2 separate regions of the Homo sapiens genome follow, and region 2 is linked to region 1. The links are contacts of gene promoters, found by promoter capture Hi-C in blood cells and fetal thymus (Javierre and others, 2016). All regions are on one chromosome and are shown on one strand. The core of a region is centred on a gene start or on the middle of the fragment in contact, and the rest is flanking DNA. Distances in the headings are between cores, read along the strand shown. Region 1 holds the start of FOS (Fos proto-oncogene, AP-1 transcription factor subunit). Region 2 has its middle 41 kb from the start of JDP2-AS1.

Region 1 (5,914 bases), core at 1,839-4,338:
AAATAAAGTCGTATCTTTTCTTAGTATAATATTGGTCATTTCTAATCAGAACACACTATTGCCAGGAACACAGTAGTTATTGTTAAAATCAGCTGCACTAGATACAATTTGAAAATATCCAGCACCAGGTTAATTCCAATAATGAACCCAATAGATTAGTTAATGCTATGAGAAGACTAAGGAGAAAGAGAAAAGAGACACAGACCCAGGCCTGGCTCAACATGCTACTAACTACCAGCTCTCTGAAGTGTCACTGGGAACAATACACACTCCATGCGTTTTGCTACATCTCCGGAAGAGGTAAGGACTTGAGTCCACACATGGATGCTTTCAAGTCCTTGAGGCCCACAGCCTGGTGTGTTTCACGCACAGATAAGGTCCTCCCTAGGTCTACAGGAACCCTCTAGGGAAGATGTGTTTCTCCTCTCTGTAATGCACCAGCTCGGGCAGTGGCACTTGTGGGTGCCGGCTGCCTCCCCTTCCCTGCCCCCTCACAGGGCCAGCAGCGTGGGTGAGCTGAGCGAGTCAGAGGAAGGCTCATTGCTGCTGCTGCCCTTGCGGTGGGCAGCTGCACAGCTGGGGAAGGAGTCAGCCTCGGGGTAGGTGAAGACGAAGGAAGACGTGTAAGCAGTGCAGCTGGGAGTACAGGTGACCACCGGAGTGCACAGGGGCTCCAGCTCTGTGGCCATGGGCCCCATCCCCAGGGAGCCACTGTGCAGAGGCTCCCAGTCTGCTGCATAGAAGGACCCAGATAGGTCCATGTCTGGCACGGAGCGGGCTGTCTCAGAGCCACTGGGCCTGGATGATGCTGGGAACAGGAAGTCATCAAAGGGCTCGGTCTTCAGCTCCATGCTGCTGATGCTCTTGACAGGTTCCACTGAGGGCTTGGGCTCAGGGTCATTGAGGAGAGGCAGGGTGAAGGCCTCCTCAGACTCCGGGGTGGCAACCTCTGGCAGGCCCCCAGTCAGATCAAGGGAAGCCACAGACATCTCTTCTGGGAAGCCCAGGTCATCAGGGATCTTGCAGGCAGGTCGGTGAGCTGCCAGGATGAACTCTAGTTTTTCCTTCTCCTTCAGCAGGTTGGCAATCTCGGTCTGCAAAGCAGACTTCTCATCTTCTAGTTGGTCTGTCTCCTGTATACAGAGGGATAAAGGAAAGCATAAGACACAGTCTTACTCAAGGGCCCTTATGCTCAATCTCCAACTTTCCCCTTAAGTTTTAAAAAGGAGCAACCCACAGAGTACCTACCGCTTGGAGTGTATCAGTCAGCTCCCTCCTCCGGTTGCGGCATTTGGCTGCAGCCATCTTATTCCTTTCCCTTCGGATTCTCCTTTTCTCTTCTTCTTCTGGAGATAACTAGAATAATCACAAAAAAAGACCGACATTCAGTAAAAGTGTCTGCCATCACCTCCATTCACCCACCCCAGTAGAACTGGCTCCTGCAGCTTCCCTGCTTCCTGGCACCCCACTGTGAAACCATTTCTGACCTGCAGTTGCAGACTAGGTGTGACTTGCATTTAAAATAAGATCCTCAGCAAGAGAACAAAGAAGAGCCCAGTCTGAAAGCATGCGGTAAGAAACTTAGGGAAGAAACTATGAGAGTACTTCTTAGGGTGAGACTCAGAGTCTGAGTTGGGATGGAATGGGCTTGGAGCCAGGGCTCCCAGTTACGGATGTGCAGCCAGCCCCATCAGTGGCTTCATCCTCTGTACTGGGCTCCTGCATCTCCGGGGCTGCTTCCCACCCAGCCCCCACATTCCCAGGAAGAGTACGCTAGAGTTCCTCACCTGTTCCACCTTGCCCCTCCTGCCAATGCTCTGCGCTCGGCCTCCTGTCATGGTCTTCACAACGCCAGCCCTGGAGTAAGCCCCAGCGGAGGGGGCGGGGACTCCGAAAGGGTGAGGGGCTCTGGTCTGCGATGGGGCCACGGAGGAGACGAGGGCGGGCTGCACCAGCCACTGCAGGTCCGGACTGGTCGAGATGGCAGTGACCGTGGGAATGAAGTTGGCACTGGAGACGGCCAGGTCCGTGCAGAAGTCCTAGAACAAAACAGAAGGGGAAAGCCGACGTGAGCGAGCAGGTTCCGGACACAGGTGGGGCGAGTTCCCAGTGCCGCATGCAGCAGTGAAGAGAAACGATCCTGCCACGGACATTTCATCTTAAATGTCCCTCATCCTGGATGAAAGGTCTCCCCCTTTTCCTCCCAGGCATTCCGCAGCGCAGTGCCTGTCTCTTCCATCCTGCCGCTGCGTTCCCGTTATCCCTTCAGCATCACTTGCTTGAAAGGGGGTTTGTTATAAATATCCCTGACGTCTGCGCTGACGCAGGCGCCGCTCCGGAGTCTCCAGAATGAACTCGCTTTTTATCAATGAAACTGCCTTACACACCCGCCCGCTGCACCCTCCTCCCTCATCCCTCCTCCGTGCTCCAGGCTGCCGGGGGAGGGGGGATTGCCGCTTTCTGCCACCTCCCCGGAGAAGCCAGGCTCTAGTTAGCGAGTTTGTGCTTGGGACACGTCTGCTCCAGCTAATGTCAGAGATCCGTCCTGGAGTGCAGACCAGAGGTTGCTCAGAACGAACCTGCCTCCCGAAGGGGGAACCAATTCTTACTATGGCAAGCGTGCGTGCGCTCAGAGCAAGTCCCGAGCCCCCGAGCCGGCACCGCTCCGGCCACGGCAGCCTCCCTCCAGGCACAAGGGAGCCCCCTACTCATCTACTGGAGCGTCCCGCCCGGTGTCTCCTCCTCCGCGACCCCAAGCCCCCGGCCCCGCGGCGACGGGAAGCCAGCCTTACCTGCGCGTTGACAGGCGAGCCCATGCTGGAGAAGGAGTCTGCGGGTGAGTGGTAGTAAGAGAGGCTATCCCCGGCCGGGGACGCGCTGCTGCAGCGGGAGGATGACGCCTCGTAGTCTGCGTTGAAGCCCGAGAACATCATCGTGGCGGTTAGGCAAAGCCGGGCGAGGGGCCGAGGGGCGGAGACAGGTGGGCGCTGTGGAGCAGAGCTGGGTAGGAGCACGGTCACTGCTCGTTCGCTGCGCCGCGGCCGCCGGCTCAGTCTTGGCTTCTCAGATGCTCGCTGCAGATGCGGTTGGAGTACGAGGCGCCGCAGCCACTGCTTTTATAACAAGCGTTTTATGAATGAGTGTAAACGTCACGGGCTCAACCACGGTGGCGCCAGAGGGGTGGCGCGCGGGCCTGGGCGCTTCTGCGGCCGCCCGGCTGCGTCCCCAGCGCTCGCAGCTCCCTGCCCCCGCCTTGGCGCGTGTCCTAATCTCGTGAGCATTTCGCAGTTCCTGTCTCAGAGGTCTCGTGGGCCCCCCAAGATGAGGGGTTTCGGGGATGGCTCCCCCCAGGGCTACAGGGAAAGGCCGTGGAAACCTGCTGACGCAGATGTCCTAATATGGACATCCTGTGTAAGGGGGGAGGGATTGACGGGAACTGCTCGCGGGCTGCAGCCAACACCGAGGGTGCAGTGCGGGGGGAGGCGGGGGCCGCGGCTGGGGGAGGGGAGGCGGGAACGGCGCAGAATGAGAGAGAACATTCGCACCTGGTTCAATGCGGACCCTTGTTCCCGAGGTCGGGGGGGATGGGGCAGAGAGCGCCTTTTTACCCTTGTACGGAAACTGAAGACAGTTCTGAGGCTCAGAGATAGGAGAAACGGCATCGAGTACAGGACCCCGAGGACTTAAGCCTCGGCTCCCGAAGGAATGCGCCCCTACCCCCATCCCCAATTCTAGCCCTAATTCAGTGCAAAGCGTGGAAGCAGACCTTCATCCCCTAACCTCCAGCCCTCGGGCTCGAGCAATACTAGCACTGTTCCTGCGTTTGGAAGCAGAAAGTGGAGGATCCAAAATAAGAGAATACGATAACCTACTTTACGATACTGGGTACTTTATTTATTTATTTTTTTAAAGAAGACAGCGCATTTATTTATTTATTTTTCTCGGCCATGTGTGGGAATATTAAGGAAACTGTCAAATCCCTGAGACACCAGCAGATAAACACTGTGCAAAACCTACGTGCGAAGACATTTGAAGGGGGTGTCTGCCCGGTTCTGAGCTGGGCCCCAGGGGTAGGGAGTGCGAGGTGTGGTTATGTGGGCAGGGTGGTCAGTTCGGGATGACAAGGCGGGGTGTGCTTCCTGCGGGGAACTCAAATCTGCGCTGAGGGCTGGTTCGGTCCCGCCAGGAAGCTGTGCTTACGGGAGCCCGCAGCGGGTGATTTTCCAGCGCGGACTTGGAGGGTGGAGGACGGGGGCTGGAAGGACAGTGTCCAGCTGCGCCTGGGCGGAATACCTCGACTGCTGGGACCCCAGGAGCGGCTCCACGTCCTGGAACACGGGGCTTTGGGGAGGCAAGGTGCTCCAGAGTGTGCCACGCCCCCCAATCTCCTGCCCTGCTGCGTAGGACAGCCGGGGTCACGCTGCCGGGGCTCAGCCCCAGCGCGCTGGCCACCTCCAGGGCGCGAAGACGCATGTCCCCGCACAGCCCCGGTCTTCCCTTCTCCACTCTTCGGGCCCGGGGGTCGGGGCCCGCGGTGGGCACCTGGAGAGGGGCGAGGCAGGATGAGGCCGGCGGGCGGATAGTTCGGGGCGCGCGGGGAGCCGGACCGCAGACCTGCCTCCAGCCGCCGCGCCCGGGAGCCAGGAGATCCTGCTATAGATAGTAACAGGGAAGCGGCTGTTTACAGCAACACAGCGCCGCCAGGGCCGTCTCCAGGCAACGCCGCGCGGCCGGGCGCGCCGTCGGCCTGGCGAGGCCACCCTCCCTCCCAGCTCCCCTGGGCCGCGGCCTCCCCGGCCCGGCCGCGGCCGCTCCCGTCGCCTGACATCATCCGCCGGGTCCGGGGGCTGAGCGGCCCGCGCGAGGCTGTGCGCTAACCTCCATTCTTAGAGATCCAACCCGGCAGGAGCGGGGAGGGCAGGAGGCGGGGATTCGTGGAACTGGGCCACTTGCTATTTTTGCATTCCCTGTCACAGGCAGAGGTGAAAACAGAATTTCATCATTGTATGTCATTGGTTTATGTTGGTGGGAATTTAGGCGCTTTTTTTTCTCACTCATAAAAAGGGAGGGAAACGGAAAAACACACATAATACGTAAACACAGATTCCTTGGAGCTGCTCTGAATCCTAAAGCAATTCTGCGGCCTTCGGTACTTCTAATTCTATCCTTGATTACAGAAAGAAAGAGGGGGACGGGAGGGAAAGGGGTTATGAAGCCAAATACATCTCTCTTATTATTAATATTAGCTTCAGACAAAATAGGTCAAGCTTTGAATTCCTGAGTCTGGCCATGACTGCCATTCACAACTAGATCTCAGGCCACTTAACAGGAAACCTGACTGGGTGCGGTGGCTCACTCCTGTAATTCCTGCACTTTGGGAGCCCGAGGCGGGTGGATCACTTGAGGCCAGGAGTTCGAGACCAGCTTGGCCATCATGGTGAAACTCTGTCCCTGCTAAAAATACAAAACAGCCGGGTGTGGTGGCGCACGCCTGTAGTCCCAGCTACTCAGGAGGCTGAGGCAGGAGAATTGCTTGAACCCGGGAGGCAGAGGTTCCTGTGAGCCGAGATCGTGCCACCGCACTCCAGCCTGGGCAACAGAGCAAGATTCTGTCTCCAAAAGAAAAGAAAAGAAAACCTAGAATGATTTGATTTACTTCCCTTTCAGGTCCAAAGCATCTCGGCCAATACCTAAAAGATGTGTCAAGATTTTATATCCAGGATTTATCTCAAATACACTTATCCTGCCTTTGCCAATTAAAAAAAAAAAAAAGAAGAAGGGTCTTTGAGTGAGCCTATTTCCTCCAGATAGCTTAACTCTTTCCTTCTGGCACCATTATGACCAGAGTTGGAGACTTACTAAATCCATCCTCTGGAAAGGACAAACTAAGTCCATCCTCTGGAAAGGACAAACC
Region 2 (5,914 bases), core at 2,358-4,857, 110 kb before region 1:
TTATTGCCAAACCCAACATCACCTAGATTTTCTTCTGTTTTCTTCTTCTAATCCATGAACATAGAATAGCTCTTTAGAAGTGTTATAGTTTTCCATTTCATATTTAGGTCTGTGATCCATTTTGAGCTAATTTTTGCAAAAGGTGTATATTCTGTATCCGGATTCATTTTTTGCCTATGGACATCCAATTGTTCCAGTGCTGTTTGTTGAAAAGACTATCCATTCTCCACTGCATTGTCTTTGCTCCTTTTTCAAAGACAATTTGACTATATTTGTGTGATTGTTTTCTAATAGAGCTTTTTATTCTATCCCATTGATCTATGTGTCTATTCTTTCATTGATACCATAGCCCTGATTACTATAGCTTTATAGTAAATCTTGAAATCAGATATTGTGAGTATTAGCCAATGCAATACTGAAGAAGAATAACAAAGTGGTTGCCAGGGATTTGGGTGGGTCTTTTGCCTTTACATGTACATTTTAGAATCAATTTGTTGATATCTACAAAATAGCTCCCTGGGATTATGTCAAATCTAGCAATCAAGTTAGAATAATTGACATTTTAACAATATTGAGTCTTGTGATCCATGAACATAGAATAGCTCTCCATTTTTTTAGATCTTCTTTGATTTATTTGTTTCACAGTTTCCACATATTGATTCTGTACATATTTTATTAGACTTATACCCAAGTGTTTCATTTTTTCTATGCTATTGTAAATGATATATTTTTAAATTTTCAACTGTTCATTGCTGGTATACAGAAAAACAGTTGGCATTTGTATTAGGTTGGTGCAAAAGTAATTGCAGTTTTTACCACTACAAGTAATATATTGACCTTGTAGACTGCAACCTTGCTATAATTGCTAAATAATTCCAAGTTTCTCATGGGTTTATTTTTTGGTTTTGTTTTCTTTTGTTTTGCTTTTGCTATTGTTTTTGTCAATTCTTTGCATTTTTTCTACACAATCAAGTCAACTATGAACAAAGACAGTTTTAGTTCTTCCTTCCCAACCTGCATATATTTTATCTCATTTTCTTTTGTTTTTTAATTATAATACTAGCTAGGATTCCCTGTACAGTGCTCAATAAGAGGGGTGATAGGGGACATACTTGCCTTGTTCCAGTCATAGGAAGAAAGCATCCAGTTTCTCACTGTTAAGTATGATGCTAGTTGTAGGCCTTTTGTAGATGTTCTTTATTAAGTTGAGGAAGAATCCGCTATTCCTAAGTTGTTGAGAGTTTTTATAATGAATGGTGATGGATTTTATCAAACGCTTTTTTTGAATCAATTGATGTAATTATATGATTTTCTTCTTTATCTTGTTGATGTGAATTACATTGATTGATTTTTAAATGTTGAAACAGTCTTGCATTCCTGGAATAAATCCCACTTGGTCATGCTCTATAATTATTTGTATACATTATTTGATTTGATTTGTTAATATTTTGTTGAGGATTCTTGAATTTATGTACATGAAAAATAATAGTCTTTACTTTTCCTTTCTTGTAATGTGTTTTCTGATTTTGGTTTTAGAGTAATGCTGGCCTCACAGAATGAGTTAGGAAATGTTCTTTGTGCTTCTATTTTCTGAAAGAAATGTTCCTTAAATGTCTGGTAAAACTCACCAGTGAAATCATCTGGGCCTCGTGCTTTCTTTCGTGGAATACTATGAATTATTGATTCAATTTCTTTGATAGATGTAGAACTATTCAAACTATCTCTTTCTCCTTGTGTGAGTTTTAGTAGTTTGTGCCTTTTGAGGAACTGATCCATTCATCATAGTTATCAAATTTGTGGGTATAAAGTTGTTCATAGTATTCTTTTATTATCCTTTTAGTGTCCCTGTGATCAGTAGTGATAGCCTCTCCTTCATCTCTGATATTGATAATTTGTGTCTTCTCTCTTTTTTTCTTGATTAGCATGTGTAGAGGTTTATCAATTTCATTGATCTTTTCAAGGTACTAGTTTTTGGTTTTGTTGATTTTCTCTACTGTTCTCCTGTTTTCAAATTTATTGGTTTCTTCTATAATTTTTATTATTATTTTCTGCTGCTTGCTTCGAACTTAAATTAGTGTTCTTATTCCAGTTTCCAAGGTGAAAGCTTAGATTGTTGATTTTAGATATTTCTTCTTTTCTAATATATGCATTCAATGCTATAGATTGCCCTCAAATTTCTACTTTCACTGCATCCCACATACATTGATAAGTTGTATTTTCATTTTCATTTAATTCAAATATTTTAAAATTTCTCTTGAGACTTTTTTGGCCCTTGTGTTCTTTAAATGTATGTTGTTAAATCTCTAAATATTTTTGGATTTTCCAGCCACCTTTCTGTTACTGATTTTTAGTTTAATTCCATTGTGGTCTGAGAACATACGTTGTATGATTTCTATTCTCTTAAGTGTGTTAAGGTGTGTTTTATGGCTCAGAATGTGGTCTGTCTTGGTGAATGTTCCATGTGAGTTTGGGAAGAATGTATACTCTGCTCTTGCTGCTTTGAATATTCTATAAATGTCAATGAAATCAAGTTGATTGGTAATTCTGATCAGGTCAACTATATCCTTACTGATTTTCTCCCTGCTTGATTTATCAATGACTGAAAGAGAGGTGTTGAAGTCTCCAATTATAGTAGTGCACTTGCCTAACTCTCCCATCAGCTCTGTCAATTTTTTTTTTTAAGATGGAGTTTTATTTGTTGCCCAGGCTGGAGTGCAGTGGCATGCTCTCAGTTCACTTCCACCTCCACCACCTGGGTTCAAGCGATTCTCCTGCCTCAGCCTCCTGAGTAGCTGGGATTACAGGCACCCACCACAACCCCCGCTAATTTGTGTATTTTTAGTAGAGATGGGGTTTCACCATGTTGGCCAGGCTAGTCTCCAACTCCTGACCTCAGGTGATCCATCCCTGTCAGCCTCCCAAAGTGCTGGGATTACAAGCGTGAACCATTGCGCCCATCCAGTTCTGTAAATTTTTGCATCACACATTTTGATGCTCTGTTGTTAGGTGCATACACATTATGGATTGTTATGTCCTTTTGGACAATTGGCCCGTTTATCAATGTGTGATTCCTCTGTTTAGTCCTGAGAATTTTCATTTTCCAAAGTCAGCTTTGTCTGAAGTTAATGGAACTACTCCAGCTTTGTTTTCTTAGTGTTACCATGGTGTGTCTTTCTCCACTCATTTACTTTTAACTTATCTGAATCATGATATTTAAGATGGGTTTCTTATAAGCAAAATATAGCTGTGTCTTGTTGTGTTATTTAGCCACTCTGATAATCTCTGTCTTTTAATTTGTATACTTAGACCAGTCACATTTAAAGTGATTATTGATATAGTTGGGTTAAATCTATCATGTTTGTAACTGTTTTCTATTCATTGTACTTATTCTTTGCTTCTTTTTCTTCTTCCCTGTTTTTCTTGCCTTCTCTGAGCATTATTTAATTGAGCATTTTATATGATTTCATTTTATCTGTTAGCATATCAATTATATTTCCTTTAAAATTTCTTTTAGTAGTTAGCCTAGAATTTGCAATATACAATTACAACTAATTTAAGTCACTTCAAATAAAACTATACTAATTCACATGTATTGTAGGTACCTTATAACAGAATTTCCAATTCCTCCTCTTCTCCCTTATAACATTGCTGTCATTCATTTCACTTATTCATATTCTATAATTTACCCAATAACTTATTATTTTGCTTTAAACAGTTATCTTTTAGATCAATTAAGAATAAAAATAATTTTTTTTTTGAGATGGAATCTCACTCTGTCGCCCAGGCTGGAGTACAGTGGCACAATCTCAGCTCACTGCAACCTCTGCCTCCTGGGTTCAAGCGATTCTCCTGCCTCAGCCTCCTGAGTAGCTGGGATTACAGGTGCATGCCACCACACCCGGCTAATTTTTGTATTTTTAGTAGAGATGGGGTTTCACCACGTTGGTCAGGCTGGTCTCGAACTCCTGACCTTGTGATCCACCCACCTCAGCCTCCCAAAGTGCTGGGATTACAGGCGTGAGCTACCACACCCGGCAAAAAAATAAACTTTTGTTTTACCTCCATTAATTTCTTCTCCAGTGCTCTTTCCTTCTTTATGTGGATCTGATCTTATATCACTAACCTTCTCCCTGGATTATTTTTTTAAAATTTCTTTCAGGGCAAATCTGCTGGCAATGATATCTTGTTTTTGTTTGAAAAGTCTTTATTTCTTCTTTATTTTTGAAGGATAATTTCACTGGATATAGAATTCTAGGTTGGTAGGGGTTCTTTCTCCAACATTTTAATATTTTACTACACTCTCCTCTTGCTTGCATGGTTTTTGACAAAAGATTCTCTGTAGGTATTATCCTTGTTTGTCTATAGGTAAAGGGGCTTTCCCCTCCAGGTTCTTTTAGGATTTTTCTCTTTGTCTTTGGTTTTCTGAAATTTGAATACAATTTTCCTAAGTGTAGATATTTTTGATATTTATCCTGCTTGATGTTCTCTCAACTCCCTGGATCTGAGGTTTGGTGTCTGTCACTAATTTGGACAGTTCTTGACCATTATTATTTCAAATATTTCTTTTGCTGTGTAATCTCCTTTAATTTCTGGCATTCCAATTATGTGTATGTTATATCTCTTGAAGTTATCCCACAGTTCTGGGGTTTCTGTTTTGTTTTGTTTGTTTCTCTTTTTTTCCTCTTCACATTTCAGTTTGAGAAATTTCTATTGACATATCTTTAAGCTCACTGATTCTTCCCTTAGCCAATTCATTCTACTAATGAGCCCATCAAAGGCATTCTTCATTTCTGTTGCAGTGTTTCTGATTTCTAGCTTTTCCTTTTAATTCTTTCTTAGAGTTTTCAGCTCTCTGCTTACATTACCATCTGCTCTACCATGTCGTATGCTTTTTCCAGTAGAGTTCCTAACATATTAGCTATTTTAAATCCCCTGTATGATAAATCCAAAATCTGTGTCATATCTGAATCTGTTTCTGCTGCTTACTTTGTCTTTTCAGACTGTACTTTTATTACCTTTAGCATGCCTTATAATTTTTTGTTGAAAGCCTGCCACAAAGGCAACCAAAGCAAAAATGGACAAATGGGATCACATCAAATTAAAAAGCTTCTGCACAGCAAAAGAAACAGTCAACAAAGTGAAGAGACAATGCACAGAATGGGAGAAAATATTTACAGTATTTCGGAGAAAATATAGAAACAGCTCAAGCAACTCAATAAGAAAGAAATCTAATAATGTGATTTAAGAATAAGCAAAAGATCTGAATAGACATTCCTCAAAATAAGACATACAAATGGCCAAGTATATAAAAAAATGCTCAACATCATTAATCATCAAGAAATGCAAATCAAAACCACAGTGAGATATCATCTCACCCCAGTTAGAACAGCTTCTATCCAAAAGACAGACAATAATGAAAGCTGACAAGGATGTGGAGAAAGGGGAACCCTCACACGCTGTTGGTGAGAATGTAAATTAGCATAGCCACTATGGGGAACAGTATGAAGGTTCCTCAAAAAACTAAAAATAGAGCTACCATGTGATCCAGCAATCCCCAATATACTTTTGGGTATATACCCAAAAGAAAGTAAATCAGTATATCAAAGAGGTATCTGCACTCCCATGTTTATTGCAGCACTATTCACAGTGCCAAGATTTGGAATCAACCTAAGTCTCCATCAACAGATGGATAAAGAAAATGTGGTGCATATACACAATGAAACATTATTCAGCCATAAAAAAGAATGAAATCCTGCCGTCTCCAACAATGCAGATGGAACTGGAAGACATTCCATTAAGTGAAATAAGTCAGGTACAGAAAGACAAGTTTCACATGTTCTCATTCACATGTGGGAGCTAAAAATGGAAACAATCGAACTCATGAAAATAGGGTAGAATGATGGTTACCAGAGGA

The links. Contacts are between HindIII fragments. The CHiCAGO score rates a contact against its expected background, and 5 or more counts as called.
Region 2: a contact is called between a fragment that was not itself captured here and the fragment with the promoter of FOS in region 1, in 1 of 17 cell types (monocytes). The highest score is 5.5, in monocytes.

Annotation. Positions count from the first base shown.
Region 1 is chr14:75,276,002-75,281,915 of GRCh38, reverse strand. FOS (Fos proto-oncogene, AP-1 transcription factor subunit) reads right to left here and starts at 3,088. Exons shown (of 4, transcript NM_005252.4): 1 at 2,793-3,088; 2 at 1,788-2,039; 3 at 1,249-1,356; 4 at 1-1,133. The coding sequence starts at 2,933. The coding sequence ends at 492. RefSeq lists enhancers at 99-658, 659-1,218, 1,245-2,170, 2,757-2,816, 2,171-3,098 and silencers at 3,187-3,246, 3,597-3,686, 4,415-4,924. The HindIII fragment of the contact is 6,704 bases long and covers 1-5,269 here.
Region 2 is chr14:75,383,432-75,389,345 of GRCh38, reverse strand. No RefSeq gene overlaps it. Among named protein-coding and RNA genes, the nearest start is that of JDP2-AS1, 41 kb to the left of the region's middle. The HindIII fragment of the contact is 3,002 bases long and covers 2,107-5,108 here.